6 separate regions of the Homo sapiens genome follow, and all the other regions are linked to region 6. The links are contacts of gene promoters, found by promoter capture Hi-C in blood cells and fetal thymus (Javierre and others, 2016). All regions are on one chromosome and are shown on one strand. Each heading gives the region's core, a stretch centred on a gene start or on the middle of the fragment in contact. The rest is flanking DNA. Distances are from core to core; before and after follow the strand shown.

The links. Contacts are between HindIII fragments. The CHiCAGO score rates a contact against its expected background, and 5 or more counts as called.
Region 1: a fragment that was not itself captured here is called in contact with the fragment with the promoter of DNMBP in region 6 in 3 of 17 cell types (M1 macrophages, M2 macrophages and naive CD8 T cells); the score reaches 5.4 in M1 macrophages.
Region 2: a fragment that was not itself captured here is called in contact with the fragment with the promoter of DNMBP in region 6 in 1 of 17 cell types (monocytes); the score reaches 5.2 in monocytes.
Region 3: a fragment that was not itself captured here is called in contact with the fragment with the promoter of DNMBP in region 6 in 1 of 17 cell types (naive CD8 T cells); the score reaches 5.3 in naive CD8 T cells.
Region 4: a fragment that was not itself captured here is called in contact with the fragment with the promoter of DNMBP in region 6 in 16 of 17 cell types (naive CD8 T cells, total CD8 T cells, activated CD4 T cells and 13 more); the score reaches 12.5 in naive CD8 T cells.
Region 5: a contact is called between a fragment that was not itself captured here and the fragment with the promoter of DNMBP in region 6, in 13 of 17 cell types (naive CD8 T cells, naive CD4 T cells, activated CD4 T cells and 10 more). The highest score is 8.6, in naive CD8 T cells.

The regions. Positions count from the first base shown.
Region 1 is chr10:99,803,461-99,806,160 of GRCh38, forward strand. It overlaps ABCC2 (ATP binding cassette subfamily C member 2), which reads left to right. Exons shown (of 32, transcript NM_000392.5): 10 at 559-813; 11 at 1,922-1,987. Among named protein-coding and RNA genes, the nearest start is that of ABCC2, 22 kb to the left of the region's middle. The HindIII fragment of the contact is 865 bases long and covers 843-1,707 here.
Region 2 is chr10:99,761,382-99,764,081 of GRCh38, forward strand. No RefSeq gene overlaps it. Among named protein-coding and RNA genes, the nearest start is that of ABCC2, 20 kb to the right of the region's middle. RefSeq lists a silencer at 1-18. The HindIII fragment of the contact is 6,331 bases long and covers 1-2,700 here.
Region 3 is chr10:99,870,100-99,872,799 of GRCh38, forward strand. No RefSeq gene overlaps it. Among named protein-coding and RNA genes, the nearest start is that of DNMBP-AS1, 56 kb to the right of the region's middle. RefSeq lists an enhancer at 214-363. The HindIII fragment of the contact is 3,129 bases long and covers 1-2,700 here.
Region 4 is chr10:99,847,951-99,850,650 of GRCh38, forward strand. ABCC2 (ATP binding cassette subfamily C member 2) reads left to right here. Exons shown (of 32, transcript NM_000392.5): 31 at 2,652-2,700. Among named protein-coding and RNA genes, the nearest start is that of ABCC2, 67 kb to the left of the region's middle. RefSeq lists an enhancer at 1,916-2,596 and a silencer at 2,142-2,436. The HindIII fragment of the contact is 1,166 bases long and covers 774-1,939 here.
Region 5 is chr10:99,830,944-99,833,643 of GRCh38, forward strand. It overlaps ABCC2 (ATP binding cassette subfamily C member 2), which reads left to right. Exons shown (of 32, transcript NM_000392.5): 22 at 668-887; 23 at 1,034-1,188. Among named protein-coding and RNA genes, the nearest start is that of ABCC2, 50 kb to the left of the region's middle. RefSeq lists an enhancer at 1-247. The HindIII fragment of the contact is 3,144 bases long and covers 1-2,700 here.
Region 6 is chr10:100,008,582-100,011,281 of GRCh38, forward strand. DNMBP (dynamin binding protein) reads right to left here and starts at 1,366. Exons shown (of 17, transcript NM_015221.4): 1 at 1,257-1,366. RefSeq lists a silencer at 1,139-1,658. The HindIII fragment of the contact is 18,497 bases long and covers 1-2,700 here.

The DNA of each region.
Region 1 (2,700 bases), core at 25-2,524, 210 kb before region 6:
CCTTCCTCCCTCTCTCCTTCCATCCATCCATCCCTCCTTTTCTTCCATCCCTCAGTATTTGATTCTCTACTATGTGCCACATAATATAGTAGTGAAATAGACAGATGTTGCCCTCATCCTCACAGAGTTTACATCTAGTGGAGAAACAGAAAAAAACAAAGTAATTATGGTTCATTGTGATGAATGTAATGACAAAGGTAAGCTCAGGATATTATGAGAGTACACAGGACGAATATCTAACCCCAACTTGGTAGTCACGGTGGTTTTCTTATAAGAAGTTACATCTCAGCTGACACCAAAGGATAAATAGGAGTTTTCTGGGCAAAGAAGTGTGTGGATGGGTAGAGTTGGAGGAAGGTGGGAATAAGAGGAAAGAGTGGTCAAGAATGAGAGAATACCATGTGTAAGATTTGGAGGCAAGAAGTCACAGTGCCTTGGAGAAGCTGTGTCCATATGGAGCACATCCTTCCATTGTAATCTCACTTCCTGAGCTTCCTCTTCTACTCCCTAGTATCCTTGGCTTTGTCCATGGGTCCTAATTTCAATCCTTATCTTTAGGCATTGACCCTATCCAACTTGGCCAGGAAGGAGTACACCGTTGGAGAAACAGTGAACCTGATGTCTGTGGATGCCCAGAAGCTCATGGATGTGACCAACTTCATGCACATGCTGTGGTCAAGTGTTCTACAGATTGTCTTATCTATCTTCTTCCTATGGAGAGAGTTGGGACCCTCAGTCTTAGCAGGTGTTGGGGTGATGGTGCTTGTAATCCCAATTAATGCGATACTGTCCACCAAGAGTAAGACCATTCAGGTAAAGAAAAAGTCACCCAGAAGAATATAAGCTTTCTTTAAAGTGTAAACCCTTTTTCTTACTCTACTCTAATTCTTAATGGGAGTTTGGGCAAGGCAAAGCTGGTGGAAGACTTTCTACCATCTCAATTGTACTTAGCTGTCTCTGAGTTCCCTTTTCATCTTCTGATGACTCTTAGGGTTTATATATACTCCTCTGCATTCATGTTAGAGGGAAGAGCCTGACTGGGGAAGGAAGGGCTACCCCAGAGATGCTGCACATAATTCTTCCATCTTGCTCTGCTGGGCTGCCCTAAGAACAGGGATTTGGGGCCCTGCTTCTCCATTATGGCAATCTAAACCAACCACAGAGAGCAGTCGCATGAGTGATCCAAATTTCAGCCTGAGCCTTGGCAATCACCCCGCTACCACCAGGTGGGAGGGCTCCGTGTGGACAGTGTCCTCAGTCCTGCCAGAAGTCACAGGTTGGGTGGGTGGACTTGACAGTGTATATGATTTATTCACTCATTTGTTTTGCATTCAAGTTACAAATAATTGTTTTGAAAATATTTCTTACATATCTTACTTCTCTGAGAACACAGCAGTGAGTTAGGGCTCCTGTTCTCATGGATCTTACATTCTACCTGGTAGGGTGGTGGAGAGACAGGCAATACACAAAGAAGAAAAATATCAGATCATGATAAGTATTATACAGAGAATTCAACAGGGTGATGAGATAGTGAGTGAGTGGGTGGTTATTTTCAATGAGTTCAGGGAAGGCCTCTTGGGGAGTGGACATTTAAGCTGAACTCTGAATGATACAAGCCTGACTGTAAAGGAGAAAGCCTTGGGAAGGGCAGGGAAAGAACAGCCTGGGAGGTGGGTACAGTCAGGCAAGGGCTATGGGACAGAAACAAGCTTGGAACAAGCAAGGATCAGAAAGAAGATGGGTGCGGCAGGAGCAGAGTGGGCAAAGAGGAGAGTGGAGGGAGGTGAATCCCATCACTGGGCACCTCAAGTTCTTACTAAGTGACAGCCACAAAGTAGCAGTGAGGCCTGATGTCTGCAGCAAACCTGAGCCCTCTCTCATGGAAGCGTATATTGTTTTTCTTTTGCTTTTTTCCTGGCAGGTCAAAAATATGAAGAATAAAGACAAACGTTTAAAGATCATGAATGAGATTCTTAGTGGAATCAAGGTGAGAATCTGAGCGTAGGTGGCTCTCTGTGGGTAAGGACAGAAGCAGTGGCTCTCTTGGCCTTTGCAAACCCTGGTAGAGGTGATGGATTCCTGCTTCTGGGCCGGTTGTGTCACATGACTTTTGTTTCATGTCCTCCTGTCCCTCTCAGGTCCTCCGTTGAACCCCAATTTCTATTTATTCACCCTAAATAGCTTGTTTTGTTTTGACACTTTACTGTAGAAGTGTTTAAACATGTAGAAAAGTAGAGACTATCATGAACCCCTACAAACTTTTCACCCAGCTCCAGGAATTATCAGCATGACCTAACTAGTTTCATCTATAAACCCACACCCCTCACACTTGCTAGATTATTTTAAAGCAAATCTCAGAGATCTTGTCATTTCATTCATAAATGCTGTGTATGTAGCTCTAAAAGAAGGATTTATTTTAAAAATATAGCCACAATACCAGTATCATACCTACAAAAAAAATTAACATTCTTTGATACCATCAAAGTTCTCCAGTTGCCTCATATGTGCCTTTTGTTTGTTTTGCTGTTGGTTAGATTGAATAAGGACCCAAAAAATGTCCATGCATGATATTTAATTGATAGTGATTTTAATCTACTACAGTCTCTCTCTCTCTGTCTGTGTGTGTGTGTGTGTGTGTGTGTGTGTGTGTGTCTTGGTCATTCCAAAAAAACTAGGTTATTTGTCCTATTTCCTGTATTT
Region 2 (2,700 bases), core at 8-2,507, 250 kb before region 6:
CCCATTACCCAGTTCCAAAGCCACTTCCACATTTTCAAGTATCTTTATAGCAACCACCCTCTCCTTGGTACCAGTTGTCTTCCTTAGTTCATTTGTGTTGCTATAAATGCCTGAGGCTTTGTAACTTGAAAAGAAATTTTATTTGGCTCACAGTTCTGCAGCCTGTACAAGAAGCCTGGTGCCAGTATATCCTAACCACAACATCATTGATTGGACCAATCCAGAAAAAGGGTTCTGATTGTCCAGGCCCTCTTGTACAGTCAAAAGACTGGCAGCTGGTGTTTATCTTTTCCTTTGAAGGCTCAGGGGTTAGCTGCTATATAGACAAGGGCTGTCCTAATAATAAACCTGACTGCATTTGCACAAAACAGTAGAGTTAGCTTTTCCCTTTCTGCCTTAAATCTTGATGCTCGATTCTCTTCCTTACTAATGTGTTTTGTGGCATTTTTTCCTTACTGATAAATGTGTTTTGTGGCATTTTTTTGTGGCAAACTGATGCAGACAGAAAACCAAATACCCCATGTTCTCACTTATAAGTGGGAGCGAAACATTGGCTACATATGGACAAAGACGGGAGCAATAGACACTGAGGACTACTAGAGTGGGGAGAGAAGGAAAGAGGGAAGGGCTGAAAAACTACCTATTGGGTACTATGCCAACTACCTGGGTGATGGGTTTAGTGATACTCCAAACCTCAGCGTCTTGCAATATATCTTTGTAACAAATCTGCACATGTATCCCCTGAAGAGTACAAGTTGAAAAGAAAAAAAAAAGCCCCTGTAGGCTGGGCATGGTGGCTCATGCCTGCAATCCCAGCACTTTGGGAGGCCAAGGCGGGTGGATCACTTGAGATCAGGAGTTCAAGACCAGCCTGGCTAACATGGCAAAACCCCGTCTCTAGTAAAAATTTAAAAAGTAAAAAAAATTAGCCAAGTGTGGTGGCACGCACCTATAATCACAGCCACTCAGGAGGCTGAGATAGGAGAATAGTTTGAACCTGGGAGGTGGAGGTTGCAGAAAGCTGAGATCGCGCCATTGCACTCCAGCCTGGGTGATGGAGTGACTCTGTATCAAAAAAAAAAAAAAAAAAAAAACTATAATAAACATGTTTATTGTATTAAACATGTTTCCCTGAGTTCCGTTAGCTACTCCAACAAATCAATCAAACCTGAGGAGGGGGTTGTGGGAATTCAGATTTATAGTTGGTCGGTGACAAGCACAGGCAAAATAATCTGGGGCTTGCAATTGATGTTGGAAGTTGGCTGGTGAGGAGTGGGAAGTTGGGGGACAGTCTTGGGGACTGAGCCCTCAACCTGTGGGATCTGATGCTATCTTCAGGTAGATAATGTTGAGATTGAATTAGAGTACACCGAGCTGGTGTCTGCTGCAGAAGTGATTGCTTGCTTGGTGTGTGTCAGGGAGACCCTCACTCCCCACATTTGGTCATAAAAGTCCTCTGTGTTGATTGTTGTGAGAATAGAAAAAACACTTTGAGTTTTCCTACTCTCGGAAAGATCAGTATATGAAATAAATTGTATTGCTTTACACTAGCAACAAACAATCCTAAAATGCAGTTAATAAAAGTTCAGTTTATAATAGCATCAAAAAGATAAAATGCTTAGGAATAAATGTAATCAAAGAAGCGTAAGACAGGCCAGATGCAGTGGCTCACACCTGTAACCCCAGCACTCTGGGAGGCCGCGACGGGTGGATGATGTGAGGTCAGGAGTTCCAGACCAGTCTGGCCAACATGGTGAAACTCTGTCTGTATTAAAAATACAAAAATTAGCCAGGTGTGGTGGTGGGCACCTGTAATCCCAGCTACTTGGGAGGCTAAGAAAAGAGAATCACTTGAACCTGGGAGGCAGAGGTTGCAGTGAGCCAAGATCGCACCACTGCACTCCAGCCCAGGCAACAGAGCAAGGCTCAGTCTCAAAAAAAAAAAAAAAAAGTGTAAGACAGTATACTGAAAACTACAAAACATTGTTGAAAGAAATTTTAAAAGACTTAACAATGAAGAAATAAATGGAAAGACATCCCATGTTCATAGATTGGTAAACTTACTACTTTTAAGATTCCAACACTCTTCAATTGATCTACGGAGTCAATGTAATTGCTAGCAGAATTCCAACTGCCTTTTTGTGTAAAAGTTGACAAATTGATCCTAAAATCCATCTGGAAACGCAAATGCCCCAGGATAGCCAGAAAATCTTGAAAAAGAAGAACAACATTTGATGACATACTTCCTGATTTCAAAACTTACTACAAAGCTATGGTAATCAAGGCCATGTAGTACTGGCATAAAGATAATTATATAGCTCAATAGGATACAATTGAAAGTCCAGAAATAAGCACTTACATTATAGTCCATTGATTTTTGACTAGGATTCCAAGACAATTCAGTGGGGGAAAGAATGGTCTTTTTAACAAATGATGCTTAGACAACTGGATATCCACATGCAAAAGAATAAAGTTGGACCCTTACCTTACACCAAATGCAAAAATTAACTCAAAGGGTCATAACCTAAATTTAAGAACTAAAAAACCTTTTAGAAGAAAACGGGTAAATCTTTGTGACCTTTGGGTTAGGCAAAGCCTTCTTAGACATAACATCAAAAGCATGAATGACAAAAGAAAAAAATTGGATAAATTGGATTTTATCAAAGTTGGAAACTTTTATGCTTCAAAGTGGCATCAATA
Region 3 (2,700 bases), core at 58-2,557, 140 kb before region 6:
GAAACCTAGGGCCCTGATGGTGTTATCACATGAGGGAATCTCCTGATCTGCAGATTACAAAAACCAAGGGAAAAGGGTAGTATCCGGGCTGGGTAGCACAGTCCCTCACGGCTTCCCTTGGCTGGGGGAGGGAGGTCCCCTGGCTCCTTGAGTTTCTGGGGTGAAGCGACGCCCCACTCTGCTTCTGCTCACCCTCCATGGGTTGTACCCACAGCCTAACCCCCGTGAGATGAACTGGGTATCTCAGTTGTAAATGCAGAAATCGCCCGCCTTCTGCATTGGTCTCACTGGGAGCTGCAGACCAGAGCTCTTCCTATTCTATCTTGGCCCCTCCCCTCTTTCTTGTCTTTTTTTATAAAAGCCATTTTAACTGTGGTGAGATGATATCTCATTGTGGTTTCAATTTGCATTTATCTGGTTAGTGATATTGAGCTTTTTTTTTTTTTTCTTTTAAGACAAGGTCTCACTCTTACTCAGACTGGAGTATAGTAGCTCAATTATAGCTCACTGCAGCGTCAGCCTCCTGGGCTCAAGCCAGAAGCCTCCCACCTCAGCCTCCCAAGTAGCTGGGACCACAGACAGGCAGGCACCACCACTCCCAGCTAATTATTATTATTTTTGGCAGAGGTGGGTTCTCTCTATGTTGCCCAGGCTGGTCTTGAACTCCTGGGCTAAAGCAGTCCTCCCACCTCAGCCTCACGCAGTGCTGGGATTATAGGTGTGAGCTAACAGGCCTGGTCCCTTTGCCCAATTTTAAATTGGGTGTTTATTTTCTTTTCAATGAGTTATAAGACTTCTTTATATATTCCGGATACAATTCTCTTATCAGACGTATGAGTTGAAATATATTTTTCTTATTCTGTGGGTTGTCTTTTCACTTTGATAGTGTGTTTCTTGTTTTGTTTGGTTGTTTTTAGATGGGGTCTTGCTCTGTCACCCAGGCTGGAGTGCAGTGGCACAATCATGGCTCACTGCAGTTGCTACGTCCTGGGCTCAAGCAATCCTCCCACCTCAGCTTCCCAAGTAGCTGGGACTACACCACCATGCCTGGCTAATTGAAAAAAATTTTTTGTAGAGACGAGTTCTACCTGTGTTGCCCAGGCTGGTCTCAGATTCCTGGGCTCAAGAAATCCTGCCTTGGCCTCCCAAGGTGCTGCGGTTATAGGTGTGAGCCATCATGCCTGGCCAATGGCATTATAAGCACAAAAGTTTTCCATTTTGATGAGGTCTAATTTATCTGGTTTTTTTTTTTTTTTGGTCACTTTTGTTGTCATTTGAAGAAACTAAAGCCTAATCCAAGGTTGTGAGAACTTTTTCCCATTTTAAGAATTGTGTAGTTCTAACTCTTACATTTAGGTCTATGCTCCATTTGGAGTGAATTTTCGTGTGTGGTTTAGGAAGCGGTCTAACTTCATTCTCCTGCATGTGGATATCCAGTTGTCCTGGCACCATCTGTGCAAAAGATGGTTGTTTCCCCATTAAGTTGTTCTGACACCTTGGTCAATTCATATTTGACAATACATGTAAAGGTTTATTTTTATGTTTTTTGAGACGAGGTCTCACGCTGTCACCAGGCTGGAGTGCAGTAGCATGTTCACTGTTCACTGCAGCCCCAACCTCCCAGGCTCAAATAATCTTCCTACTTCGCCTCTCAAGTAGCTGGAATTACAGGTGTGCACCACCATGCCCAACTAAGTTTTGTATTTTTGTAGAAATGGAATTTCACCATGTTGCCTAGGTTGGTCTCGAATTCTGGGCTCAAGCAATCCTTCTACCTCAGCCTCACAAAGTGTTGGGGTTATAGGTGTGACCTGCTGTGCCTGGCCAAAGTTTTAGACCCTCAATCTATGTCTATCTTATGTCAGTCTCACATAGTCTTACTTATTGTAGTTTTATATCTTGTTCCTTTTTTCAAGATTGTTTTGGCTACTCTGGGTCCCTTGCGTTTCCATATGAATTTTAGGATCAGTGTGCGAATCTTCTTAACTTGGAGCAGATGCTATAGAAGACTCCCAATAGTGAACTGAGGACCAAAATTATCCAGAAGCCTCTACATGGTGAAGGAAAGATTAGGGAACCAGGCAGGTTATTTACTGGTACTAGGTGTATTTTGGAAATTTCCTAAAGAGTTGTTACCTCTGGGGGTGAGGGTACTCCCTACTGCCATGCAGGCCTCAATTTCCAAATGGTTCAGTCAAAAGACTGGATTTAGAGGATTAGAATTCCAAGAAATCCAAAGGTTCAGGAACAGAGGCAGCCAGGGCAGGACTCCAGACAGCTCTATGTAGACCAGGCCCTGGAGGAGAGTTGAAGGTTATGTGTTGTTTCCACATTGACCTAAAGCAATGGAGACTGGCTTAGACTCTTACTGCTATTCAATCCTTCCTTTAAAGGGCCAGTGTCCTCTTTTGATGAAGGCTCCCACAGAACTGACTAGGAAGGGCCATTCAATGGCTTAGGGCCAAAGTCCTTTTGGTTGTACACATGAGCTGGTGTGTTCTCAAGTGGGTATATAGCAAAGGGTTAAATACATGAGCTTTGCTCTCAGGGCTGGGATTGAAATCTGAGTCTTACTATTTCTATCTGGGTAAACCTGGTTGAGTTTCTTATCCTCTGAGCATGAGTCATTCTGTTTTTGAGACGGTCTCACTCTGCTGTCCAGGCTGGAGTGCAGTGGTGTGATCACGGCTTCCTGCAGCC
Region 4 (2,700 bases), core at 107-2,606, 160 kb before region 6:
TTATTAAGTGTACTCCTCATATGACATTACACAATGTGAGCTTACACATCCCACAGAAAGCAGAGGCTCCCAGCTGTGCACAATCAGGATGAAAATAGTCTGGCTGCCTGGTCCAATCCTAGAGTCTGATTTAATTGTTTGAGGCTAGACTGGACATAGGGAGTTTTAAAGGATCCCCACGAGGCTGTTAAGGGCATCGCAGTTAAAGAACCACTGATCTAAAGAGCATGCGGATGACAGGGAACGTGACATCTGTAAAATCCGTAGGCACTGTTGAAACACCTGAAATCAACAAAAGACTCTCTTGGCTTTCACAGTTATTTTTAACCTTTCCAAAACATTTTTATATAATTGACAGTTCACTTCTGGCCTTCAGTGTATGTTTGCCTGTCCATTAATAAGTTGATCTGGCATTTTTCCTGTAACATTTTTGTTTTTCCTTCCACACACTGAAGTTCTGCCCTCAGCCAAAGCCCACTGCTCATGGACAGGTCTTGCTCCTGCCCCAGGGGCCTCAGTGGTGGTAGGCAGGGAATAGGCCGTTGGCAAGTTGAAGCTCAGGAAGGAAGGGAGGGCTCAGTAACTGATTCAGGGGCCAGCCACTCTGGCTTCACCTGGGAGCTTGTTACATGTGCAGAATCTCAGGGCGTAGACCTACTCATCAGAATCCGCACTTTAGCAAGATTCCCAGGTGATTTGTGTGCACATTACACTTGAGAAGCACTGCCTAGAGTGTTGTGATTAACTAGGCTGCAAGCTAAAATCACCCAGGAAGCTTTAAAGCTCCCAACGCCTAAACTGTAGCCCAGACCAACTGAATCGGGGACCCAGGTGATTTTAGTGTGTAGCCCCAGGGAACAAGCCCTGGTAGAGAACATCGTCAGTTTACTTTCCCTCCACAACAGATCTAGCAACTAGCAGGACTCAAGTAGGTCTTTAGGCCAGTGTAAAAGATCATTCAAACATTCAGTCAGCAAAAATGTAATAACACCGGCCGGGCGCAGTGGCTCATGCCTGTAATCCCAGCACTTTGGGAGGCCGAGGCAGCCGGATCACCTGAGGTCGGGAGCTCGAGACCAGCCTGACCAACGTGGAGACACCCCATCTCTACTAAACATACAAAATTAGTGGGGCATGGTGGCACAGGCCTGTAATCCCAGCAGTAATCCCTCAGGAGGCTGAGGCAGGAGAATCGCTTGAACCCGGGTGGCGGAGGTTGTGGTGAGCTGAGATTGCGCCATTGCACTCCAGCCTGGGAGACAAGAGCGAAACTCCGTCTCGAAAATATATGTACACCTACTGTGTGCCAGGTACTGAAAATACAGAGGCAAACAGAGACACAACCCTGACTTCCTAGCATTTACAGCATAATGAAGACAGACCTCTGTCAGTAAATGCCAGTACAGTCTGTGCTACAGAGGGTACATTTGGGATGCTATGGTAGGGTACAATGGGAGGCCTTGACATTTCTGGTTTGTAAAAACAAAAATCATGCCATCTTTCTCCTGTCCAAGCTGAGAGATGCTTAAATGGTATTACCAATGCCTTGATTTCAGACCTGAGTTTCAAACCTGGCCTGGGGGACTAAAACTTACATTTCTCTGTTGAATGATGGGTAAGTTCAGCTTGGAGAGAGCAGCTGAAAGACAAAGTGGCGCCTCAGCAACAGTCTGTTACTCTAAAGTCCAAAGTCTACGTTACACTTTGGGCCAGGCAGGAGTTTGGTACAAGCTAAGTAAATAGTTTTTCAGTGTCTCTGATCTTACATTACAGGGGAAAACTGGAAGTTCATCTTGGGTGACTTCTCATCTCCTGCAGAAATTTTCTTACAGAGAATTACAGCACTTTGGCCACCCCCTGTTTAATATGTTCCCTAATGGCCACAGCAGGAAAGAGCAATTAGCAAATTCCTGAATATTTCCTTCACATCATTTCCCAAAGCTTCTTTATGTTAGGTAAGAGGTCCAGCCTTCATTACAGGCTTTTAGCAAATTAAAGCTATTTGCATTTTAGAAGCATATTTGAATTCCACATACATTGCATCTCACACCAAGACATCACGTTCATTAGACAGCTTCATCTCTAATCAAAGCAGAAGGCCTTGAACAAATAATTAGCCTTGAGGCTAGAATTACACATTAAAATAATAAATTGATTTGCTAAGGCCACAAAGAAATGCCACTGGGGCATTCTAGTGTTGCTCCACCCTATATTAATGGCTTCAGGTCAAATGCTGCTAACGTAAACTTGGTGACACTCATGTTGTTTTGGAAATGTTGATGTCACGGCAACCAAATACAAAGCATGGTTCCTGGGCCATTGTTATCCAAACTTGTTTAAGCATAAAAATGGCCTGGGGTGCTTAGTAAAAAGGCACCTTCCTAGGCTCCTGCCCGCTCTGATTGAGCAAAGCAAGGGCCCAGAAATATGACTTTTTAATTAAGTACTTGGGGTGGGTCTTCAATTGGGAAAGTTTGAAAAACGATGCTCACAGCAGCAAGGTACAGCTAGTTGAAGAGGCCCAAACATTCCAGGGGAATTTTGGAGGGGGGGTTTTGAAAGTCTGATCTGGAACATGAAAATGGTCCCCCTGCCCTGCGTCTTTCCTTGGTCTTTAGGAGCTAACACATGGTTGCTTCTATTGGCTGCAGCATAGGCCAGAGGCAGCTGCTGTGCCTGGGCAGGGCTCTGCTTCGGAAA
Region 5 (2,700 bases), core at 79-2,578, 180 kb before region 6:
AGGAGCAATATGTCCTCTGTCCTTTGCAAATCTTCAGACTCATTATTAACCTGTTAGCAGAGGCTGTGGGCTTTCTACCAAGTCATATTTCCATAAAGAATGCTATGTTTCCTGTGAATGTCCTCATCCTACACTTCATGAGTGTTTGATTCCATTCTGATGTGTGGAGGAACAGGAAAACTCAGACCTAGAGCACATAATTCAAATTAATGAAATTTAACCACAAATTTCAAGGTCGGCAGTAGAACCCCATCATCTGTTCCACTCTGATTTTTTGTTTGTGTGTTTATTTTAGATACAGGGTCTCACTATGTTGCCCAGGCTGGACTAAAACCTCAGGGCTCAAGAGATCCTCCCACACCAGCCTTCTGAGTAGCTGGGACTACAGGGGCATGCTATCATGTCTGGCTTGTCCCAATCTGTTTTTATATCTTCTCCTCTTAAATGCCTTTAGCTTTGATGATTATTTACCCTGCATTGTATTTCAGCATTGTTCTATTATCCTTCCTGGCACAGTGCAGAAATGGTGACCACAGACTACCAAATTTTGCTACCTGCTACCCATGCTCCCAGGGGACTCCACTTCTCCTTGTGGTTGGCATTCTAGGTGATTCCTTATCAAAAGCCATTAGGGAGTTCTACTAATATTGAGGTGGGGACTTTGCAGGTGAAGTTCTCCATCTACCTGGAGTACCTACAAGCAATAGGATTGTTTTCGATATTCTTCATCATCCTTGCGTTTGTGATGAATTCTGTGGCTTTTATTGGATCCAACCTCTGGCTCAGTGCTTGGACCAGTGACTCTAAAATCTTCAATAGCACCGACTATCCAGCATCTCAGAGGGACATGAGAGTTGGAGTCTACGGAGCTCTGGGATTAGCCCAAGGTATGTCTGATGGCTATGACATCTTACAGAATCTGTCTGGACCCTGTACTTTTCCTGGACTCAGGAATGCATTTGCCATTATGTCCTGGGCACAAGTCTTCAGGGATTCCTGTGCATGGTGCTGACAAAACTGCTTCCATCTCTAGGTATATTTGTGTTCATAGCACATTTCTGGAGTGCCTTTGGTTTCGTCCATGCATCAAATATCTTGCACAAGCAACTGCTGAACAATATCCTTCGAGCACCTATGAGATTTTTTGACACAACACCCACAGGCCGGATTGTGAACAGGTTTGCCGGCGTAAGTATCTCAAGAACTGTCAGGTGGTGTGTTTATATACTGAGGATCTTTCTGATAGGGAGGAATTATTATGTCCCCCTAGACAACACTGTTCAGTTCCAGTTCTTTTGTCACTCAACATGCAAGTGTTTCTTGAGTACCTGCTGTGAGCTCCCAAGAATCCTGGAGATTGAGGGATGAACATCTCTGACCCTTCAAGTAGCTCAGCATCTAGTGAAGAAGACAACCAAAGAAGTGAAGGATTATAATAGAATATAGTAAAACCAGTAACAGCAGTGTGTAGAAAGGTGGTCTGGGAGTACAAAGGAAAAAAAGGCACTAGCCCAGCCTGCGTGATAAAGGTGGGAAATGTCAGAAAAGGTGAAACTTAAGTCATAGAAGCAAGCCAGGGAGATGGCAAGGGTTGGGGGATGGCAGTAGAGCAGGGTGAGAAGGATTATTCTGCAGAGGAAGGAACATAAATAAAAGCACTGTCACAGCCTGGGACAGGAAATACAAGAGATAGTAGGATAACCCTTTGCTTGGCCTCTGCCTCCATTCCTGAAACTTCTATCTTGAATGCTTTAAGAATGAGTAAATTTGGTCTGGACTATGGAATAGAGCCATCAGTGATTTTAAAAAGTTCTCAAATATTGTTTCCATCTACCACAGATCCTGGACCCCTTGGCATTCACTCATTCATTCATTCAACAACCGTTATTGAGCACTTTCTATGAGCCAACTACTGTACTAGACACTGGGGCACTCAATGAATGTGAAGATCATAGATGTCTCTCTTCCATGGGCCAGACCCAACTCACTGATTTTTTAGTGTATCTGAGATGGGAATTCAGGAACAGAGGCAGAGATCAGGCAATTCTGAATGATAAGTAACTATCACCAGCACAGTTTTTAGCCCTGTGCTTATGGAGCAGCTCTGGACTCTTGTTTGTTGGTCTTGGGGCAGACATAGAAAGTATAGCTCACAGTCCACAGCCAGGTTCTGGGGACACAGTAACTGCTTCAAAAGTGGGCCATTAACTGGTCCCCCTGTGTCATCTTCCTCTGGGGCAGAAACAGTGGGCATGATGTCACTAGAGACAACTTCAATGGCCTTTCTGCTCTTTACTAGAACCTAAAAGAACACTCAATTTTGGGTGAGAAATTTCTCATAGTAATTTTGTAAAGATCACAGTTTTCCCCATGTTGTAATATATATAATCTTCTGGGAAAGAGAACACAGAGGTTTTCTGTGAGTTACTTAGGCAACAGTCATAGTTTGAAGACTGCTTTTGCATGAGAAAGGAAACTGTCATTAATTATATAGTATGTTTCGTTGGGGAGGTGGCTCAGACCTATTAAGGGGAGTTTGATCAAGGGGCCTCTGGGATCAATGGCTGAGTTAAGAGGAGATGGAGTGGAGGAAGGAAAGATGGAGACTCTGTGCCAGGTAAGGATCAAAAGTAATCTGCATAGAACTGATAACTGGTAGGGATTTCTTTTCTCTGCCAACTGTGGGTATAGTTATTTGCA
Region 6 (2,700 bases), core at 116-2,615:
TGCCCCATTATGCAGAATTCTAAAAATCTTTTCTTCTTAAAACATTTTTATTATCACAATGAGTGACGTGTTTCAAGTTAACATGTAAAATCGGAGAACTCGAGACAGAAGAGGACCTTAGAGATCCTTTAATTCAATATTTTAGAGAAAAATGGGTAGAGGATAAACTAACTTGCTGATCACCGTGTCGGTATTCATGCTGTGAAAGTAATAAACGGAACACCAACTGAGAAATGATCCCCGAATGCTGTCAGGTACTTCAGTCTTGCAAAAACTACTACAGATTAATCAGTCCTGCTCATCCGTTTAACTCAGCTATGTAAACAAGCAGAGCTAGACTATGCTCAAACCCTAAATATTAGCGTTACCACTCGCCTGCCACATACTACAGCATCATTAGTTATGAAAGTGTTTTAATACAAGATCTTCATGTTTGTGTAAAAGAATTACTATAAAACAGACCTAAAGGCAAGTTACCCATATTCCAGAATAAGTGAGTGCCAAAAATATTCACCCTTCATTACAGTACAAATGAGACAGGCAGTAATAATGAGACTGCATTTAAAGTTGTTTTTGCACTTAAAATTTAAGTCTATACTCCTCATCTGCATCAGGCCCCGGCCTGTTTGGTAACCTCAATATTCCTTTACTAAAGTGACAGCATCACCACCCTTTGAGACACAGATGCCCGGTGGACATCTGTGCCTGCAGCAGGAACGCGGGTGTCCGCGGGTTTCTGCAAAACTCCACCATGACCAAAGCTGCATCTCCAGCTGAACAGGTCTAACCCTTGCTTCGGAAGCCATCTGTCCCTGTCTCCCTGACACAGAATCACGGCCTCCTATGCCGTAAGGCTCCGAACATCTGTAAAATCAGCGGGGTGGACTAACGCAGAATTCTTTTTCCAGCTCTCAAAATTCCGCCTCATTGCCGGAGTGGCAGGGCGGTGCAGAGAAAGAGCCCTGGGCTTGACACCGCTTGAAAAGCCCACGTTCGCATTGCTCTGACCACCCCTCCAACTCCCGGGGACTACAGGAGTGCGAGGGGGCCCGCTGCGCCCCACTGTCCCTCGCGGGCTCCTGGCCCACAGAGCGCAGCACAGCGCCGCCGCTGGGAAAGGGCCGATACAGGCCTAGCCGCGCGGCGCGGCGCGGCGCGTCTCTCGGGGTGCGGGTCCCCTCCGCCCGCGGCCCCGGACCGCGACCCCCGCTCCCCGCCCGGCCCCCGCCCGGCTCCGGCCTGGCCCGGCCTCTGACCTGCTTTCCGCCGCCCGGCGGTCCCTCGGCGCGGCAGGCAGTTGCAGCCGCCAGTCCCCAGCCCGCTGTCACCTCCGCCCCTGGAAGCGGCGGGCGGGTCGATCCCGTGTGAGTCAGCGCGCCGCCCCGCCTCCCGCTCAGGCTTCCGCCTCTGCCGGCGCGGTCCGCGCGGCCCCGGGGGCGCCAAGCTCCGCTGCCCGCGCGCCCACCTCTCCGGCGCCCGCCCCGCGCTCGCGCCCCCTGGCGGCCGGCCCGGCCCTGCTCGCCTCGCGACGTCAGAGGGGCGTCGCTCCCAGAACGGCCACCGGGGAAACTGAGGCACGGGGGCCCGCCCCCGCCGCAGCGCGCCGACACGGCTCGTCGGGCCTCGGCCTCACGCAGTCCTACGTGCAGCCCCGGCTGCGGACAAGTTCCTCCACTCTTGCTGTTCCCCCACTCCCGACACCACCCTCCAACCTAGAAAAAAGTCAAAATTCCATTCAGAGAAGTCCAAGTCGATTCCTGTCTGCGTGTGATGCTGTCCTCTTTGCTACCCCGAGGCAGTTTCCCTTATTATGCCACACAATACTCGCTGGGGTTCGCCTCTATCTGTCCCATTTTTTTCTGAGGAAAGTCTCTCAGGACATCTTTGAGAATTTGAGAGCAAGAAATGACAGAAGCAAGAACTGGGCAGGGCTGTCAGAACTCCTCCTCCGACTCAGTTTCTGAATCCCCGCAGTATTCCCGTTGTTTGTTTAAAGACCACGAAGTTACACAGCTTGGCTATGTTGCTGGAATTGCTGCGCCTCACGTTTCTGGAATCTACCTAGAGGATTCTGAAGAAGGCGGCGAGTCTATGACTGTGCATGCACAACAAAAATAAATATTTCACAAATCTCATCCCATGCTGTATATGTTTCTCCTTCCCTTTGCTTTTTAAAAACTTGTGGTTAAATATATATCACATGAAATTTACCATTTTAATCCTTTTTAAGTGTACAGTTCAGTGGCATTAAGTACATTGACATTGTTCTGCAACCATCACCACCATCCAGCTCCAGAACTTTTTCATCTTCCCAAACTGAAACTGTACCCATTAAACACTAACTCCTCATTCTCCAGCCCCTGGTAACCATCATTCTACTTTCTGTCTCTATGATTACTCTGGATACCTCATATAAGTGGGATCATACAATATTGTCCTTTTGTGAGTGGCTTCTTTCACCTAGCATAATGTCTTCAAGGCTCACCCATGTTGTAGCATGCGTTAGAATATCCTTCCTTTTGAAGGCTGAATAATACTCAATTGTACGTATATAACATCTTTGGTTTATCCCATCTTTCTGTGGACATTTGGGTTGTTTGTACCTTTAGGCTATGGTGAATAATGCTGCAATGAACATGGGTGTACAAATATCTGAGTCCCTACTTTCAATTCTTTTGGGTATATATCCAGAAGAATTGC